Linked DNA regions of Homo sapiens: region 1 is linked to region 2. Evidence: promoter capture Hi-C in 16 types of primary human blood cells and fetal thymus (Javierre and others, 2016). All regions are on one chromosome and are shown on one strand. Each heading gives the region's core, a stretch centred on a gene start or on the middle of the fragment in contact. The rest is flanking DNA. Distances are from core to core; before and after follow the strand shown. Region 1 holds the start of PRR19 (proline rich 19). Region 2 overlaps ARHGEF1 (Rho guanine nucleotide exchange factor 1).

Region 1 (3,259 bases), core at 1-2,500, 400 kb after region 2:
TCGGCTCATTGCAATCTCTGCTTCCCAGGTTCTGGCGATTCTCCTGCCTCAGCCTGCCAAGTAGCTGGGACTATAGGCATGTGCCACCATGCCCAGCTAATTTTTGTATTTTTAGTAGAGACAGGATTTCGCCATGTTGGCCAGGGTGGTCTCGAACTCCTGGCCTCAGGTCATCCGCCTGCCTTGGCCTCCCAAAGTGCTGGGATTACAGGCGTAAGCCACCACACCCTGCCTAGAGTCTCTCACTTTAAACCAAGCCCCAGGCTCTGTTGCTCATGCTGAGGTGGGCGGACTGCTTGAGCCCAGGAGTTCAAGACCAACCTGCGCAACAGGGCAAAACCCCATCTCTACAAAAATTACAAAAATTAGCCAGGTGCATGGTGATGTGCACCTGTAGTCCCAGCTACTCGGAGACTAAGGTGGGAGGATCACTTGAGCCCAGGAGGCAGAGGTTGCAGTGAACAGAGATCATACCACTGCACGCCAGCCTGGGTGACAGAGCAAGACCCTGTCTCAAAAACCAACCAACCAACCAACCAACCAACAAAACAAACCAAGCCCCATAGAAGCAAGACTCACTTCATGAAAATCCAGTCTGCTTGAGCCATGCATTGAATCAATGGCATTACAGTTGAAACTTATTTTGATGAAACCCATTACAGTTGGACATGCTTTGTGGAAAGATATTATTATGATTGAGTCCTCTTTGTGGAGTGCCATTAGAGTTGCCCTTCGCTTCCTGTAAAGTGACTATAGCTTTGTGTAAACCCAACAGGGCTGCGCACTACTTAAAGCAAACAAGAAAGAGCCTCACTTTAGGCAAGCCTATGGCAGGAAAGCCTCATTTTAGGTCTTAGTACATTATACACAAATCCAATCTGATAAAACCAAGGCATACATTTCTTTCTCAATAGAATGTTGCACCTTACACCAAGATTCTCAGAGCCTCGGGCTGCCTGAGGCCAATCTGGGTACTCTCATAATACCTCACCTGGCCTGGGTTCTGGTCCAGATGTGTCAGCATGGACACAGGGCTGGATGGGGCAGGGGGAGAGGGACTGCCCTCACCTCGCACTGGTGCATGAGCTGGACCAAGGAGTCCCCGATGAAGACGACTTCGGGTTCCTTATCTTTGCTGTCAGCCACGAACCGATGGTGCTGCGGGAGCGCGCGAGAGGGAGTCAATGGCATGCACGCTCCAGGGCCCGCCCCGCCCTGCTCCCTTAGGCAGCGCCTCCTCAACTGCCCTCAGTTTCCCAATCAGGTAGTGAGAGTGGCACGAACCAGCCGTTCTCCTGAGCCACCCCCCGCGCCCCCGGACTCCTCAATATCCCAGGTGGGAACGCTCACCAGGGACATCCAGCGCCCGTCGCCCTGTACGTCCTGCACCGGCGTGGGCTTGCTGGCTGGGTTCTCCTCTCCACTCATCTTGGCGCCGCAGCTCCTGCAGGATGAGCGAGTCGGGTCGGCCCGGGAGTGTTCCGAACGGAGCTGGCTCCGCCACGCCCACTCCTACCCCTCGCGGCAACAAAGGACCGTCCCAACGCTAGCACACCCGCGGAGGACGAAGGCCGATACAGGGCGCCGCCTCCTCTCCAGGGACGGAAGCCTTCACTTAGGAGGTAGGTGGAATCAGGAACCTTCGCTTCCCCCACGACGGCCGCACAGTGGGCTCGCCCGGCGCTTCCCGCTCGGGCCGCTGACTCCCAGGCCGCGCACCCGGCACGGGGTGGGGGGAGGGAGAGGCGAGACCATCCAGCTCCCGAGGCGGGGAGGAGGGAGAAACCACCCACCGGTCACGGGGAGGGGCGAACTACCTGAAGAGTCGAGAGTGGGCGGGGAAAATCTAGCCCTCTGTCTAGCAAATGGGAAGAAACCATTTGCTGTACAGAGTGAAATGTGCGGAAGGGACCACCTACTGTTGCGGGGGGGGGGGTGACCCATTCACGTGGTGGGGGGAGGGGAGCGAGTGGACGAGTCCATTCTTATATTCCCTTGAAGGGGTGGCTCGAATGCACCTGGCTGGGGGGGACGCTCCTATTTTCTACTGATGTGGGGGACAGAAAAGGAAGATGACAAAATGTGAAAATTCGAGGCTCCCTTCTAAGGAGCCACTCTAAGGCCGCGCCAGGGCTTTAGTGAGCCTATCTACTCGTGGGCTTCCCCTACTCAAAACACCGTGGGTGTGTGTGTGTGTGTGTGTGTGTGTGTGTGTGTGTGTGTGTTGAAATCTAAAGTACATATCTTTGCATTCAAGACATCACAGGACCCCTACTCAAAACACCGTGTGTGTGTGCGCGCGCGTGGCATAACATATAAACTACATATCTTTGCATTCAAGACACCATAGGACCTGCTTGGAGGGTAGAAGAAGGTGCAGAAAGAGAAAGGAAATTAGAGACGCCTCCAGGGCTCAGGTCCAGTCTGGCGTCCCTCCGGCAGATCATCTTGCAGATCTGCAGCCTCTACACTCTCTCTAAACCCACAGGCCAACTGGGTATGTCTGAGCTCTGAAACCTACATCCATAGCCAAGGCCACCTAGGGTCGCGCCTCTCCCCCAACGCTGCCCCAAATTAATCTCAGACCTCAGTGTCTTCTCAGATCTCCCTCTTCTCTGGGACCAGGTGGGGGGCTCACTCCCTGCTAAACGTCCTGGTCATGTTCTTGTAGCCTCACTCCAGGTGGGACCTTCCCATGTATTCATTCCTTCGAGGTGGATTGATACTGAGACAGAGATGAGTGTTATTCATTGTGTTTATGTTTTCAATCCACTTTCCTGGAACTGGGCCGGGCACACAGTGGTTATTCCACAAGTGCTTGCTGAATGAGTAGTAAATGAGTGGGTCAGCTCCTGACCTTGTCCCAATGTGTTTAGGGAGACAGATCCAGACACAGAGGTGTAGGGGTGTCAAAGTTGTGTTTGAGGGAGAGACAGGGACCTCTGGGGAGGAAGAGGAGAAGGACTCTGAGGACTATGGGTTTCCTAGGAGTAGTATCTCAGCTGGGTCTGAAAGATAATGAAGAATGGGCAAGCAGAAAGAAAAGACACAGGTAATCACTTTCTTATTAGGTTTGGGGAATATCGTGGAATAGCTTGATTTTAAAGTCTGAGGGAGGCCAGCATGGAGGCTCATGCCTGTAATCCCAGCACTTTGGGAGGCTGACATGGTCGGATCACTTGAGGTCAACCAGCCTGGCCAACATGGCGAAACCACGTGTCTACTAAATATACAAAAAAAAAAAAAAAATTAGCTAGGC
Region 2 (3,648 bases), core at 620-3,119:
CCAGAAGGTGGAAGAGGTGGGTGCCTGGGCCCTGGGTGGGGGAAGGGCTAGCCCCTCCCCCATTTCTCCCAGCCCCTCCCCTCTCCCCATGGCCACTCCCTCCCCTTCACTCCCTGTGAGGGGTGGGTGGGGACATCACCCTCCCAGTTGAAGAGCTAAGTATGGAAATCCTCCCCACCCCATAACACCCCCTCTGTTGCCATCCCCCTGCCTCAGGGAAGGGAGGGGGTCAGTCCTATGCTCCATCCTGGGTTCCCCATCCCTTCCCCCATCAAATTTCAGTATCCCCCCTCCCCCAAGACCCCCCACTACCCCAGTGCCCCTAAAATCCCACCACTCCTCTGACTCTCTCCTCTCTTCTGTTGCATGTTTGATCCCTGTCCTGGTCACCCTTGCCCCGGTCCTGGTCTCTCCCTGTCTCTGTCCCTGTCCTGGTCTCTCCCCGTCTCTGTCCCTGTCCTCGTCTCTCCCCAATTTCTGTCCCTGCCCTGGCCTCTCCCCACCTCTGTCCCTGCCCTGGTCTCTCCCCGTCTCTGTCCCTGTCCTGGTTTCTCTTCGTCTCTGTTCTTGTCTTGGTCTCTCCTTGTCTCTGTCCCCGGCATCTGCCTGACTCTGTCCTTGGCCTCGGGGTCCAGGCTATCAGGGCGTCTGGGGCGCTCAGAGAGCCTGCGGGTGAGTGACCGCCGCCGGCCTTCCCGGGGCAGCCTCGGGGCTAAGGGCCGGGGTGGGGGCCGCTCCCGGAGCGACGTGGACATGGACCCCAGTTCCGCCACGGCAGTGCTTGGCCCTGCCCGACGAGCCACGTATGTCAACCCTCTCCCTTCCCCCATCCACTAAGGCAGCCTGGAGAATCAGGGAGGGATTGTTGTCAGAGTCACAGAGGAATGGGCGTTGGAGACCGAGGTCATTGAGGCCAACTGTGGTCACAGACCTTGGAGGAGGAGGGGGTAGAATGCTTCTAGAGATCTGGGAACTCTAGTGTGGTCCGATCTAGAGACCTGGTCTGCTGCACGGGCCACCCTGCGGGCATCGAATGCCAAGGCCACTGACCGGGGTTGAACGCTCTAAGAGGCTGAAGGCTGCTTCTTGGGATGGCCCAAGCTGGGGCCCTAACAAGGCCTCTGTCCACAGCCCCGAGCCTGGAGATGAGGGGGAGCCGGGGCGGTCGGGACTGGAGCTTGAACCAGAAGAGCCTCCCGGCTGGCGGGAACTCGTCCCCCCAGACACCCTGCACAGCCTGCCCAAGAGCCAGGTGAAGCGGCAGGAGGTCATCAGCGGTGAGTACTGCCCCCATCACCCCACTGTGGCCAAGGACACAGTCCAGCTCTGGCAAAGGCAAAGACAGGCGCAGAGAGATGTTCATCTTGGTGTCATTTACCATCGGGAGAACTTGAAGGCAGCTTCAAATTCCCTCTTGTTCCAAGTTCAGATTGTTTCAACACAGAGCATTTTGATGGAATGTGAATGCCACTGTGGAAGGGACATTTCCAAACATTTCTAGTAGTGCAATACAGTGCTGATGTTGAGAACACTGCATTTCTGGTGCAAGCTTTTATTTCCTTGCTTGTGAAATGTGGGCATTAATAGTTCCTACCTCAGATATTGTCATGAAGATGAGATGATTTGTGTGAAATGTTTAGCATAGTGCTGGGCACAGAGGAAGAGCATTTTATTTTATTTATTTTTTTAAATTTTTATTTGAGGCAGAGTCTCAGTTGGTCTCTCAGGCTGGAGTGCAGTGGCACAATCACGGCTCACTGCAGCCTTACCCTCCCAGGCTCAACTGATCCTCCCACCTCAGCCTCCCGAGTAGCTGAACAGGCATGTACCACCATGCCTGGCTAATTTTTGTATTCTTTGTAGAGATGGGGTTTCGCCATGTTGGCCAGGCTGGTCTCGAACCCTTGGGCTCAAGTGATCCTCCTACCTCAGCCTCCCAAAGTCTTGGGATTACAAGTGTGAGCCACCAGGCCCAGTCAAGGAAGAGCATTTTAATGAGATTGTTGTTACTAGTTTGATCTTAATTGCTTAGGGGAGAAAAGATCCCCACAGGGGAAAGTTTGGGAGAATGATCAGTATATTAGCAGTGCTTGCTTCTGCGTGGAGAGATGATGAGTGTATCATTTTTGTCTTTTTCCTTTTTTCCTTTGCTAATTGTGTGGTGGCTAGGGAGGCTGGTGGCAAAAAGAGAAAGCTTTTTTTTTTTTTTTTTTTTTAAGACAGAGTTTTGCTCTTGTTGCCCAGGCTGGAGTGCAATGGCACAATCTCGGCTCACCACAACCTACGCCTCCCAGGTTCAAGTGATTCTCCTGCCTCAGCCTCCTGAGTAGCTGGGATTACAGGCATGTGCCACCACGCCCGGCTAATTTTGTATTTTTAGTAGAGACGGGGTTTCTCCATGTTGGTCAGGCTGGTCTCGAACGCCCGCCTCAGCCTCCCAAAGTGCTGGGATTACAGGCGTGAGCCACTGTGCCTAGCCCAAGAGAAAGGTTTGGGACTTGACTGAAAGCTTATTTACAGATTACTTCATAGTGAAAAAGATACTTATTCAAAAATTTTAGGGGAGTAGTTGAGTACTTTTTGGGTCACAGATCCTTCTAAGGACATGATAAAAAAAAAAAAAAACATGAGCCATGTGCTACCCATTAGGACTTTCTGGAAGATGGAAATGTGCTTTATTTGTACTGCTCACCATGGGGACCATCGGCCACCTATGGCTGGTGAGCACTTGAAATGCACTAGGCCAGGCACAGTGGCTCATGCCTGTGATCCCAGCACTTTGGGAAGCCGAGGTGGGCAGATCACTTGAGGTCAGGAGTTCGAGACTAGCCTGGCCAACATGGTGAAACCCCATCTCTACTAAACATACAAAAATTAGCCAAGCATAGTGGCGCATGCCTGTAATCCCAGATACTCGAGAGAGTAAGCCAGGAGAATTGCTTGAACCCAGGAAGCAGGAGATGGAGGTTGCAATGAACCCAGATCACTCCACCACACTTCAATCTAGGTGACAGAGCAAGACTGTGTCTCAAAAAAAAAGCACTAAATACAACTGAGCACTGACTTAAAATTTCATTGCAATTAACGAAAATGTAAAGAGTTGTACACGGCTGGTGACTATCACGTTGGACAGGATAGCAATTTCTTTCCCCAGAAAGAATATGCATAATGTACAAAATCGTGCTTTTAGTCTCAGGGGACTTCTAGGGCCCCTGAAACTCACACATATGCCCTCCGGGGATGTGGGGGTCCCTGGATCTGAGGCTGTCAACCACTGTATAATGTGGCTTGATGGTTAGACACTAAACACAGCTGCAAGCTTGCTGGCAGGTGGGATGACTAGCTTGTCCCCATTTGCTCAGGATATTCACAGTTTTATCACTGAAAGCCCAGGCAGGCAAATGAGGACCATTGGTCACTCTGGCCAGCTGCCACAGCGAAAAGGGAAAGGCAGTGGGTTGAGGAATCCTCACTGGTTTTTTTTTTTTTTTTTTTTTTTTGAGACGATCTCGCTCTGTCGCCTAGGCTAGAGTGCAGTGGCGTGATCTCCGCTCACTGCAACCTCCACCTCCCAGGTTCAAGCGATTGTCCTGCCTCAGCCTCCCAAGTAGCTGGAACTACAGGTGCCCACCACCACTCCTGGCTAAT

The links. Contacts are between HindIII fragments. The CHiCAGO score rates a contact against its expected background, and 5 or more counts as called.
Region 1: the fragment with the promoter of PRR19 here is called in contact with a fragment that was not itself captured in region 2 in 1 of 17 cell types (total B cells); the score reaches 5.6 in total B cells.

What each region holds. Positions count from the first base shown.
Region 1 is chr19:42,300,882-42,304,140 of GRCh38, forward strand. It overlaps PRR19 (proline rich 19), which reads left to right and starts at 1,251. Exons shown (of 3, transcript NM_199285.3): 1 at 1,251-1,622. It overlaps PAFAH1B3 (platelet activating factor acetylhydrolase 1b catalytic subunit 3), which reads right to left and starts at 1,743. Exons shown (of 5, transcript NM_002573.4): 1 at 1,351-1,743; 2 at 1,069-1,158. The coding sequence starts at 1,428. RefSeq lists enhancers at 1,218-1,267, 1,348-1,477, 1,430-2,084 and a silencer at 1,638-1,857. The HindIII fragment of the contact is 26,667 bases long and covers 1-3,259 here.
Region 2 is chr19:41,897,311-41,900,958 of GRCh38, forward strand. It overlaps ARHGEF1 (Rho guanine nucleotide exchange factor 1), which reads left to right. Exons shown (of 29, transcript NM_004706.4): 14 at 1,132-1,277. Among named protein-coding and RNA genes, the nearest start is that of ARHGEF1, 16 kb to the left of the region's middle. RefSeq lists an enhancer at 696-1,196. The HindIII fragment of the contact is 645 bases long and covers 1,548-2,192 here.